2 separate regions of the Homo sapiens genome follow, and region 1 is linked to region 2. The links are contacts of gene promoters, found by promoter capture Hi-C in blood cells and fetal thymus (Javierre and others, 2016). All regions are on one chromosome and are shown on one strand. Each heading gives the region's core, a stretch centred on a gene start or on the middle of the fragment in contact. The rest is flanking DNA. Distances are from core to core; before and after follow the strand shown.

The links. The method cuts DNA at HindIII sites, captures the fragments that hold promoters and counts their contacts. A CHiCAGO score of 5 or more calls a contact.
Region 1: a fragment that was not itself captured here is called in contact with the fragment with the promoter of KCNQ1-AS1 in region 2 in 8 of 17 cell types (neutrophils, naive CD4 T cells, erythroblasts and 5 more); the score reaches 8.2 in neutrophils.

Annotation. Positions count from the first base shown.
Region 1 is chr11:2,521,842-2,527,053 of GRCh38, reverse strand. All of the region lies in intron 1 of KCNQ1 (potassium voltage-gated channel subfamily Q member 1), which reads right to left. Among named protein-coding and RNA genes, the nearest start is that of KCNQ1, 79 kb to the right of the region's middle. The HindIII fragment of the contact is 1,173 bases long and covers 3,273-4,445 here.
Region 2 is chr11:2,857,702-2,864,499 of GRCh38, reverse strand. It overlaps KCNQ1-AS1 (KCNQ1 antisense RNA 1), which reads left to right and starts at 2,931. Exons shown (of 3, transcript NR_130721.1): 1 at 2,931-3,510; 2 at 5,561-5,757. RefSeq lists enhancers at 844-1,541, 5,770-6,751. The HindIII fragment of the contact is 10,846 bases long and covers 1-6,798 here.

The DNA.
Region 1 (5,212 bases), core at 2,610-5,109, 340 kb after region 2:
CGTACCCTCCAGGGCCCGCCCGGCCTTCCTCCCGCCTCTAGGGGGATTCCCACGGGCTCCGGAGACTCCAGGGACCCCCGTGGATCCTCAGCGACCGGAGAGCCAGGAGATGGCCACATGGCCCCCAGGGCCAGGGGAGACACAAACAGAGAAAGCCACACACAGACCCTGGGGGCCCCGGCATAGATCCTCTGCCTGGCATAGGGTGCCCCAGGCTCCCTCCGCTCCCTGAGATCCTGCCATCCTGAGTGGCTTCTAACCCACCCCAGGACAGCCAGAAGGCCCCCTGCATTGCCTCTCATCCAGCCTCCTGAAGTCAGCCCCACCCAGAACCCATCCTCTTCCACCTGTCCAGATGTGGACAGCCCAGCCCACCCTCCCCAGGCCCCCAGAGCCCACAACAAACAGGCTACCTCCCAGCACAGCCTGCCTCGGCTCATCCTCCTGCTGCACGGAGGTTTCTGGGGAAGGTGGGGCTCTGGCCCCCCACCCCCTTCCCCAAGCTCCTGTGGACAGGACAATCCTTTCCTGGCCTCTGGTAGCCCTACCCAAAGGCCCTTGAGGGCTCACTCAGCCAAAGACCCTGCTCAGGCCCCCTCCCTGGGTTCCTCCCTCCCCACAGCCATAGTCCCGCTGCTGGGACTGGGGCCAAAACCTGCAGCTACCATTTCCTCAGCCACCTGCCTCACCGACACCCTGTCCCTGCCACACCGGTCAGCTCTACCTGCAGAGCCGAACCCAGCCAGCCCCTGTCTGCACCCTGCCCATCCATCCTCATCTCCCCCTGACCACAGTGCCCACCTCCACCCTCGGCGCCCCCAGCCCACACACCCAGCCAGTCAGTGAACCCTCCATGTCGTGCCCCAGTATTTACACCACGATGGCCCCAGATCACCCCAGCTCCTCCCGGCCCTTGTTGCCAGTCCTGACTGTGCCCAGCCCGGCCCACCTCAGGGCCCGTGCACCTGCTGCTGCCCAGCCTAAAAGCCCAGCTTGAGGGTCCTGCCAGCGGGCCCTGTCTCATAGGCAGAGGCCAGCTCTGATGTCTGACCCTGGCCCCCACAACACCCCAACTGTGTCCTTTATACTCAAGCATCATCGCTGGGACCAGAGTCTGTTGTCCACCCCCTAGACCATGAGCACCCCAAGAGTGGGGCTGTGGGCTGCAGTCCATGCCCGGGACGCAGCCTGGTGCACAGTAGGTGATCAGCCCCGTGGGACTTCCTTCATTTAATCTCTAAGCCCCAATGCTGCTGCTTCATCCCCACCACCATGACCCTTCCTCTGCTCCCTGAGGTTACTCCCCCACTGGGACATTCGACCCAAAGCACAAGTCTGATCAGCCACGTGGTTCCCAGGAGCACCTGGAAGGCTGGCATGCAGCCCTACCCCTCCTTGGGCCTCAGTCCCCCTGACTCCCGCCTGCCCAAAGCGCTGGCTGCATAAGCTGCCTGGCATTTGCAAACGCGGTGCTTCCAGCCAGGGACGCTCTCTGCACCCCCACCCTCCACACTGCTTTGGCTCTGAGGACTCCTCCTGGCCAGCTTGGACAGGATGTCCAGGCCCTGCCAGGCTCCCTCTGGGTGCTCCTACACTGACCACCCCTGCTCTCATCTGTCTCTGGGACTATAATCCGCACAGCGCTAGCACGCGGTGGATGCAGAGTAATTTGTTCAACAGACACAGCTGGAGCCTCCGGGCCAACCCTGTGGGGAGCCCTCCGTAGGGTGAATCTGTGGATCTCACGGGGACACAAGCAAAGGTTGGTTGGAAGGGTGAGTGCCCATCTGCACTGGGCACCATTCCGGGCACTGGGAATGGGCTCAGACTGGCTCACCTTGCACACAGCATGCTGCCCACTGCCGGAGCAGGGTTCCCTCCAGGTTCTTAGAAGAGTCTTTGTGCCAAGCTGCAGGCCCTGTCCCCACACCCTGCAGCCCCCAGGGCTGGGCTGGGTCTCTGCCCCTTGCTGGTGCAACTGTTGGCTCTCTCCACCCTACCAGGGCTCCCTCCGCCATGACTGCCACACTTAATCCTCCTGGACGTCTGTTTGTTTTGATTTGCAGTGAGCAGGGAAGTGAGATTAGACACAGCCTGGCTCAGCCACGAGGAAGCAGAGCCGGGCTGCCCGGGGCAGAAGATGCCACCTGCCTGCTCCCCAGGCCCACGGCGTGCAGAGAGGGCCAGGGCACCATCTGCACATGGAGATGCAGTGCCCACTGGTGACCCAGGCAGCTCCCCTGCCTCAGTTTCCTTATCAACACAAAGAAGTGGCCCACAGGTGCTTCTTCCCAGGCTGTGGAGGGAAGTGTCACCTGACGTCCAGCAGGGAATCAGCAGCGAGCGTCGACTTCACCCTGAGGCCTTGGATAAGCCGGAAGCTGCCAGTGCTGTCTACTGCAAAGATGTGGCAAAACCCACCACCCACCAGGGGCCCTGGGAAGGATCCACTAAGTTGCTGTCTGTTCAGCAACAGGAAGTGCTCCTGGGGACTGCAGGCCACTGCCCGCTACCCACGCCCCTGCTCACTGACCACTGGCCCAGCCAGTGCTTTGCAGACAGTAACACAGACCCCCACGAGACCCTGCCAGACTGTGACATCACTGCCACACTATCATCAAACACATGCTACAAGTAGGGAAACTGAGGCTCCAAGGGCTTCTGAGGTCACAATTGGGGTAAACTGAGGAGGAGACACAGGACTGCAGCCTGGTTCCCTGACCCGGCATGGCTGGGGTCCCTGGAGGCTGGGCCCTGGGCCCCTTTGACCCTCGGTATGAGACGACTTGCCAGGCTCTGGTCTTGGTGCACGTGAGCAGGGATAGGGCTGCGGTGAGGGTGGCACAGCAGCTTTCCCGTCGCCGAGCCTGGCTTCCATCCTCCCGTCTCTTCCTCCAACTCAGATCCTCCTGCTTCTCTTAGAAGAATCCTCACAATCACAGTGAGGGCTCACCCGGGTAACCCAGGACAACCTCCCCTCTCACGAGCCATCCCTCAGTCACCCTGCAAAGCCCCTTTGGCCACACAACCTAACTTGTTCACAGGACAAGGACACAGACACCTCAGGGGCCACCGTTCAGCCAAGCGACAGCCATGTCTGCGAGTCATGCACCCGAATCCACGCCACTGCCCCAGCCTCTCAGTGACCTGCACGGAAGGCGCTGCACTCCCCCCACTCTCAGATGAGCAAATGGAGGCCTGAGGAGGGAAGGGGGCCATGGGCAGGACCCAGGTCTGCTGACCCTGCAGCCTCCAGGCCCAGGTTGAAAGCTTTAAACTTTCAAAAAAAAAAAAAAAAAAAACTGTAAACTTCCTCCAAGGCAGAGGCGAGCGAACAGAATTACCTGCAGCTCCTCTGCCCTTCACAGGGGCACCGTGATGCAATGTGGAAGCTGAGATAACCCCACTTCACAGCTGCCCTTCTAAAAGACCACAGGCGACGCTGCCTTCTGCATCTGCCATCACGGCTTTTCGATTCTCGTGCTGTTTGGGTGACAGCCGTCCATCACAGTGGCAGTTGGTGACCTCGGCCACAGCATAGAAAGCAGTGGTGGGGCCGGGCGCGGCGGCTCACACCTGCAATCCCAGCACTTTGGGAGGCCGAGGCGGGAGGATTGCCTGAGGACAGGAGTTCGAGACCAGTCTGGCCAACATGGTGAAACCCCGTCTCTACTAAAAATATGAAAAAATTAACTGGGCGTGGGTGGTGGTGTGCTCCTGTAATCCCAGCCACTCAGGAGATTGAGGCAGGGGGATTGCTTGAACCAGGGAGGTGGAGGTTGCAGTGAGCCGAGATCGCGCCACTGCACTCCAGCCTGGGTGACAGAGCAAGACTCCACCACAAAAAAAAAAAAATTAAATTAAATTAAAAAAGAAAGCAGTGATGGATGCTGGTTAGCACCATGTGCAGGGTGGGCACTCACAGGCCGCAGGTGAGGGCTTGAAAACTTGGTGACTGGCTGCAAATACCACGCGCCTGGGCTTCATGGCGCGGATTCCAGCTGCAGGGGCCTCTCCTGCCCATGTCCTGTGCTCAGGAGACACAGCTGGCTCAGATATGTGGAGTTACTGCAGCAGGAAGATTCTTGACTGGGCGTTGCGGGAGAATACAGGATGTGGCCAGGGAAGACTGCACATGGGTGGTCCTGGACCAGCCCCCACAGAGTGTGCACCCAAGTGGGCGTCCACCCCAACTACCTGGGCAGAGGTGCCTGGGAAAGTCCCGTGCAGTGGAATCGCGGCTGAGGCAGAAGACAGGGCTCCAGGCCCGGGGGTTGGGAGCCAGCAGGGGCTGAGGAACGTTCCCCCGCAGGCCAGGCAGATGGTGGGGACAGGTGCCCATGGGCCAGGCTGGCTGTCAGCCTTGCCATATTCTGAAGGCTAAATGATTCTTCCGATATTTTGATATACCGTGCTAGCCTCAGAAGGAATTATATGACAAAGCTTACTTTTATCTACTCCAGATAAAAAGAGTTTTATCTTATTTACCGCTTTATCTATTCTTGTCTCGGGCGGAGCTGGGAACCTCACAGGTGCCGAGCTGGGGTCCCTGCCCTTGAGGCACTCAGGGCCTGGGGTGCCTGTGTCCCCTCCTGCCTCTGCAGGGCCACCTACCACCCCCTCTGCCTCAGCTCCAAGGCCAGGCAGTCACAGCCCCCCACTCTGCAGAGCCGGGAAACTAAGGCCCTGGGAGAGGACGAATCCTATGCGTGTTTTGGACTCGGAGTGGGAAGCAGGACAGGCTAGCGAAGGGGTGGGGGAGAGAAGACACCGACCCCCCCCCAGCTCATGTGGTCCCCTGAATGCTGTCCCACCCGAGCTCCCAAGAGGGCGTGGTCATGCGGGGGGCGGGGAGCTGCATGAGCGGGGAGCCCACCGCACCCCAGAAAACAACCTCCTACTTGTTCCCCTTGACAGCAAATAGGCCTCAGGAGCAGTGACGGCGAGTACCAGCCCCGAAGGCACCCGGTGAATTATCCGACATCATTTCAACATCTCAGCCCCGGGTGCCCGGGAACACAGGAGAATGCAGGAACCCTGCCAGGGTCATAGCCCGAGACGCTGTGGGAGGGCTCCCCCGGGGTGCAGGCAGCGGGCCTGGGTGGGCTCCACGGCTCAGATGGCCTGGGGCTAACGCGAGCTGAAGGCTGGAGACTCCATGACCTGCCCTGCCGCACACACTAGGGCCCCTGAGTGGTGCTCCTAAATGGGC
Region 2 (6,798 bases), core at 1,682-4,181:
GGTGGGCCTTGAGTACCAGCAGGGGTGTGGGCCAGGCCCTGAGCTTCACCCTGAGGGGAAGGTGGATGGGACTCCTTTCAAGAGCCAGGTGAGGGAGGTGTGGCACAGGGCAAAGGTTGAGGCTCCTGGGTGTCCAGGGAAGAGCAGCCCCTGAGGGGCCTGAGGACACTCAGAGGAGGAATGGGTGGAGGAGAGCTGGCAGCCAGGGTGCCCGTGCAAGGGCGCAGCAGGGCAGGCTCAGTGATGTGGAGCTGGAGGGTGGGCATTGAGGCGGAGGTGGGGGGTGGGGGGTGCGGCTGTGAAGGTCACGCCAGGGCCAGGGTGCCAGAGTCAGACTGGTGGCAGTTGGGCCAGATTCACTCTGTCAGCTGACTTCAGTCCCAGCTGAGCCCAAGGCTGAGGGATCCGCCTGCACTTTCAGTCCTCTGGCTGAGCAAATTACGAAAGTATCACAGAATGTTTCAGGAACAGATGATTTTCTTTCTCTTTCTTTCTTTCTTTCTTTCTTTCTTTCTTTCTTTCTTTCTTTCTTTCTCTTTCTTTTTTCTTTCTTTATCTCTTCTTTTTCTTTCTTTCTCTTCCTTTCTTTTTCTTCTTTCTTTCCTTTCTTCCTCCCTCCTCCCTCCTCCTCCTCCTCCTCCTCCTTCTTCTCTCTTTCTTTCTCTTTCTCTTTTTTTTCTTTCTTTTTTGAGATAGGGTCTTACTCTGTCACCTGGGCTGGAGTATAGTGGCACAGTCATGGCTCTATGTAGCCTCCACCTCCCAGGCTCAAGTGATCCTTCCTGGGACTACAGGCGCGCCGCTACGCCTGGCTAAAAAAATCAGAAGATTTTTTGTAGAGATGCGACCTCGCCAGGTTGTGCAGGCTGGACTGGAACTCCTGCGCTCAAGCAGTCCTCCCGCCTCGGCCTCCCAGAGTGTTGGGATTACGGGCGTGAGCCACCGCGCCCGGCACCCTTTTCTTTTTAAAGGTCTGTGGCTGAGTTTTGTATTGGGAGTATTCTTACTTACCCAGAACGTGGCTCTGTCTCTGTTTCATCGCTGGTGGTGGAGCAAGTGAATCACCCACCAATGTATAGGTTTTCTAAGTTTGTGGTTGAAATTTTGCTAGTAAAGTGGACACATCACAAAGAAACTGCCTCCCTCCCTCACTCTGCCCAGCCTGCCCCAGCCCTAGGCTTCGAGGCAGGCCTGGGCTCCCGGAGGATGCTCCCTGGCGCTGTGGGGCCAGAGGCCTGGGCCAGGCTCCTGCTGGGGCTGGAGATGGGCGGGGTGGCGGAGGCCGGCCCTGGCCTGCCTCATTTCTGCGCTCCGACCAGCCTGGGAATCTGTTTCTGTCATGAAAGGCGAGGGTGACCTGGCGGGCTTCTGCTCCTGGTTGGTCAGAAAGTCCGGGGATCCTTGGCTCCGGTTAAAGGGGCCCCCACGTCTGCCGTCTTGCCCGGCCGCCTCCAAGTGCCGCCGGCCCAGGGCTGAGGAAGGCGGGCCGCGGGGAGAAGGCGCGAGGGCCGGGCCGGGCAGGGGGTCCCGGAGCCAACCCCACCGCCCGGGCCGCCCCGGGCCCGCGCCCGCCGCCCCCACCGCGCCGCGCGTCTGTTTGGAGAAGAAAGCGGGCCAATTTGTTTTCATTCAGAATCACTTAAGATCCCATTTTGGAGAAATGAAAAGAGAGAAGCGCGCTTCCCGGGCCCGGGCCGCTGGGTGCCCGCCCGTGCCCGGCGGCGCGTCGAGTGGAGGGACAGCGGCCCCCTCCCTGCCCTCGGCCCCAGCACGCCCGGCCGCGGCTCCCGGAGGTCCGAGGAAGGCGGCGAGGCCGCGCTCATCTGCATGAAGCGCACACTCGCGGCCCATCTGCAAAGGCGCAATTAAACGCGGGGGTGGGGGGGCAGGGGCGCCCGAAATTAGCATTTCCGCGGCCATCTGGCGCGAGGAGCGGGCGCGGCCGGACAAAGGGCGCCGGGCGAGGGGAGAGGCGAGTGTGCCGCGGCATTGACCTGCAAATGAGGCTTTGTGCGCGCATTAAAGCTCGCCGGACCCCCGACCCCGGCCCCCGCCCCGCCCGCCAGGCCCGCGGCCCCTAGCGGCCCAGGCTCGGACTGGGCACCCCGAAGGTCTGGGGGTCGGGCCGGGCAGTGCCGCGACTGGGCAGGGGGCCGGGCCGGGCCGGGCCTGGCCGGGCCAGGACAGGCTGTGGAGCGTCGGAGCCCCCCACCCAGGCTGGGTTCCTCTGCAGCCTCCAGGAGAGCCCCTGGGACCCTGGCCCCTTGAACCCTACCCCTGCCCCCATCCGGTCCTCGCCCCTCTGGGCCGGTATTCCCCAGCCTACTCCTGGAAAGGATTTCTCAGGACGCAGGGGTCCTGGCTAGAATCCCTCGGGGTGGGTAAGTGGAGGGGGCGTGGACAGGTGGGGGCTGCGTGGTGGGGGCAATTTTGTATTGGGAGCTACTAAAAACTGGCCACCTGGACAGGTTTTTGTTTTTGCCATGGTCATTAATGCCCTCAATGTTTGAAAAAGGCCATTTCACAGTGTTTTATGGGCCTTAAAAATCAGGGACTCTTTGAAAATGGTTGTGGGGCAGCTTAGTGACAGCCAGATGATTAGCAAGAGCTCAGTATCAGGTCTTTAGGGGACCAAGTGTGTGGGGTGGTGGTACAGGAAATCTGGGACTCCCCAGCTGGTACAACTGAGGCTGCAGCCAGGGCCAATGGGCCGGGGAGCAGGAGGCCGGGACTGGGAGCCCTGGGGCCAGCTGGGCTCTGCCAGATACCTGGGTCACTTGGAGGCCCCTGGAAGGCCCCCTGGACTTTCTGCCACATTGCTCAGGCTCTGGGTGCCTACAAACTGCCCCCCATGCCGTTGGGCTGCTCATTAGGGGTTGTGGCCCAAATTAAACTGCAGTAGCCACCCCCAGAACCTCCAAAGGCCTGGGGGGCAATGAGGGGCACAGAGGACAGTGTGTGGCTATCTCTGGGTCTCTGTTCTCCCAGGTGGACCAGTGGGGGTTGTGGCGATGCTGTCCAGGGTGAGGTCCAGCTACGGTTGCCGTCCTGTCTGTCAGCACCAGCACCCAGCACATCTGTAGGGCCTGGGCCCCGGACCCAGCCTGAGGGTTATGAGGAGGTTTCCTGAAGGAGAAAAGCCAGAGTGGAGTCTGGAATGGAGCAGGGGGGACCATGGCCTGCCCTCAGTCTGCTAGGTGGGGCTGGAACCTGGGGTTTTGCTTGGGTGTGAAGAAGGAAGAGGCTGGGGATGCAGCTAGGTGCTGGTTCCTCATAGACCGAGTCATGATTTATGGGGACCCTCAATTATATCCCCTTAGCAGGGGCCACAAAGTCTCAAATCTGCCCAGAAATCCACACCTCGGAGCTCAGGTGAGGTCTTCTTCAGGTTCTCCCTCTGCAGTGCAGATACTGTCAGAAAGAGCAAGCTACAAATGGAGAAGTCAACAACACTCTAGTGAGAATTACCCTGCCAATTAATTTTCTCAGAAATCGGGGACTCAGGGACCGGTGTGTAAACACGAGTCCCTTAATGGGGGGTTCAGACAGGGTGGGTGTGGGCACACAGGGGTCCGTGCTAAAGCCTGGCACTGGATCCCAGGTGTGGGGACTCCAGCTCCTCCCAAGGGGCAGGGGATCTCCCGTCTGTGATGTGGCTGAATGACTCACCGCCTCATCTGTGGGCCAACATGTGTGGTGGGGCAAAGGTCTCTGGCCTGGTAGCCGTGTGAGCTGGAGGGGGGGCACTTCTCCATCCAGGCCTTACAGTTTCCCTTAGGTAAATGGGGCAGAGTAACCCCCTCCTTCCCCTACCACAAGGGTTCTGGGAGGTGTGGAGCCTGGGGTGTGGTGGTGCTTGGCACTCCGTGTTCTTTGGAAGCTGGAATGAGGTTCCTCAGGCCAGTTATGGGTGTGAGATGTCTGGAAAAACGAAGTAGACTGGACGGTGGCCTCATCTATCTGTGCTGGGCTGGGCACCAGCACCTCGCTCTCCCAACCTCTTGGGGTGCGCCCATAGAGGAGATGGAAGCACAGAGGATTTCAGAAACTCCCCACCTTCAGTGTTGCCTTCAAAAGTATACTGCTGTGGCATGTGGGCAAGGAGGGTTCTGGGGATGGGTGGGCTGTGGGGGGAGTAGGCGCATGGGTGGGGTGGGCCCAGGGGAGCAGGCATGAACCCAGGGAGAGGGTGCATAGATGGGGTGGAACCCTAGGGCTTCTGAGGGACTGCAGTGCGGCTGGTCTGTGTGGACAGGCGCTGGAGGGGGCACTGTGCAGAGAGCAGGATGTGGGTGAGCCCCTCTTTCCCCTCTGTCCTTCCCATCCTCCAGGACAGGGAAGCAGCCCTCAGCAGACAGTGTGAACCCCATGCCCAGTGTGAGCATGAGCACAGCTCCCTGCGCTTTGTCTTCAGGAGGTCTCAGATCCAGCCTGCATTGGCTTCCAGCAGACCCCTATTTCCTAATCCTCAAGGGTTGTTCTTGTCAGGCATCCCATTTGCAATGCCCTCGAGGGCCGCTGCCCGTCTGGCAGGGAGATCAGCTTCAAGGACACAGACAGTGTCTGCGGTGGGTGCTGAGTGCCGTAGGGGAGACCCTGGGCTGCTTTTGGAAGAGGAGCATCATGGAAGAGGAGCCCTTTCGCTCTGGGCTTTGGAGGATGAGTAGGAGTTTGCTAAACCCAGATGGGGAGGAGGGCCAGTTTGGCAGGTGGCGTTTGGGAGGACCTGGGGCAGCTGCCACAGCATGCGCCGGGCCTGAAGATGCCTCCTGCGCCTGGGTTTCCAGCTCTTGCTTCCTGAGCCGAGTTGGAGCTGATATCCATGCCTCCCAGCCACGGGATGCTCTTTTCAGTGTGACCAACCAGGCAGAAGAGCTGAGTGACAGGCAACTCGTGGCCTGGTCTGTGGAAGGCAGGGCTGCCTCTGAGCCTGCGGGTTGGGGCCAGAGTCCGGGCCTGGGCCTGCCACTCAGGAGGGAGCCCGGGGCAGCCTGGAGGAAGCACTGGGCCCTGGGGCCCGGCTGCAGAATCGGGGTGTACCCTGCACTGCGGAGGGCCTGGCTGTCCCTGGGGCTGATGACTGGGTGTGGGTGGGGACGGGCCCCAGTGGCCTGAGAACACTCGCACTTCCCTGCCCCCTCTGTCCCTCTCTTTACACCTGGCCCATAAGCGGCCAGTCTGGCTGGAGACCCTAAGCTGGAGAACCACTGGAAAAGAAATGGTTACTTTCTGCCTGGAGAGGGGGTATTAAGCCTCACCTGGGGCTGAGGCCTGGTCTCTTTAGGGCCTCCATGGAGCCCACGTGGCTCCCAGGTGCAGCCATTCTCCTCCACGAGGTGCTTGGGGGATTTGGCTGAAGCCAGGGCCAAAAAGCCAAAGCCTCTTCCTCCATAGCCTTTGCCCAAATGCAGAGGCCAGGGCTGGGGATAGGGGGAGGCGATGAGGGACCAGCTATGGCTGGTGGTCTCAGGTCCTGCAGGATGGTAAGGAGGGGAGGGTGGGCGGGTCTCCTGTCTTCGATGCAACTCACGCAAGGGCTGTCCTGGTGTCTTCTTGTCAGCTTGCTGCCGAGGCTGCCACCTCAGCTGCCTGTCTGTGAAATGGGTCCATGTGTCCCCATGCCTTGGCCCGTCTCCTCTTCCCTACAACAGGCTGCTGTGCAGCCTGGGGCCCTTTCCAGGCCACCTTCTCCATCTGCTCACTGAGGAGGGACCCCTGAGTCAGCGAGGCTCCAGCTTGGCTGCACCCAGCTGAAAGGTGAGTTGGTTCCCAGCCTCAGGCTCCTCATACGTAAGATGGGGCAGCAATGCTTGGCAAGTTCAAAGGAGATCCCTGTTAATGCTTGGCTTGGAGACTCCCTTGAGCCCACTCTGGGCTGCAGGAGGCCCTGGTTGTGGGGCAGGGTCTCTGCCACCTTCACCAGCCATCCTCACACTTGTGGGTGCCCCAGGGTGGGGCACGTCCCAGCCCTCTCTCTGGTCAGCAGAGGCTAAGTGAGGCCTGGGCTCAGGCACCAGAGGGCCCAGGTAGGGGAGGCGGCCGCCAGGTCAGGCCAGGCCGGCTCCAGCGGAGGCTGAATGGGCACTCTGTCCTGCCACCCTCGGCTGTCATCTGCCGCTGGGATTTGGTTTCCTGGACTGGTGCGGCTGCAGGTGGATTCTGCAAGGCCGGGTGACCTCGCAGCTTGGAGCCCCCGTGTCTCCTGAGCCAGGCGGTGGCCGGGGGGTGGGAGACAATGAAGCCTTTTCCTGGGGAGCAGGGGCCAGTCCGCGTAGGGGAAAGCAGTCTGCCTGTGCCCTGAGGCCTCTTGGGCTCGCTGGCGGCAAGAGGGGCCGCTCGGGACAGCGGTGCCAGGCCTTGGCAGGGCTCTCTGCAGGCTGGGCCAGCCAGGCGCCGGGTAACTGAAGCCACCTGGACACACGCGGGGGCTGTGGAGCGTTTTCGGGACACAGTTCTGCCTGCTTCACCTCAAGGATGGTGGCAGGGGGGCCATGGGGGAGGGAGGGAGGAGTGTGTTCGTGGCACCAGGGGCCTGGGGACTGACCCCCACTGGCCTCTCTGCTCCCTAGCGCAGCCTGGCTTCTGCTGAGATGAGGGCTGGGGCCGGCCCTCTCTGCTGGCTCCTCCGGAGGCACAGGTGCTCCTGGTAGTGCAGGGAGTGAAATTGTCTTGCCCCCCGCCCTTGTTCTTTGGGCCACGAGTTAAACTGAGCAGATTAGCAGAAGGAAAGAAATAATTTTCATTATGTACGTACGAGGGAAGGCCACAAAGCGTGACACCCAGAGAAGGGCAAGGTGA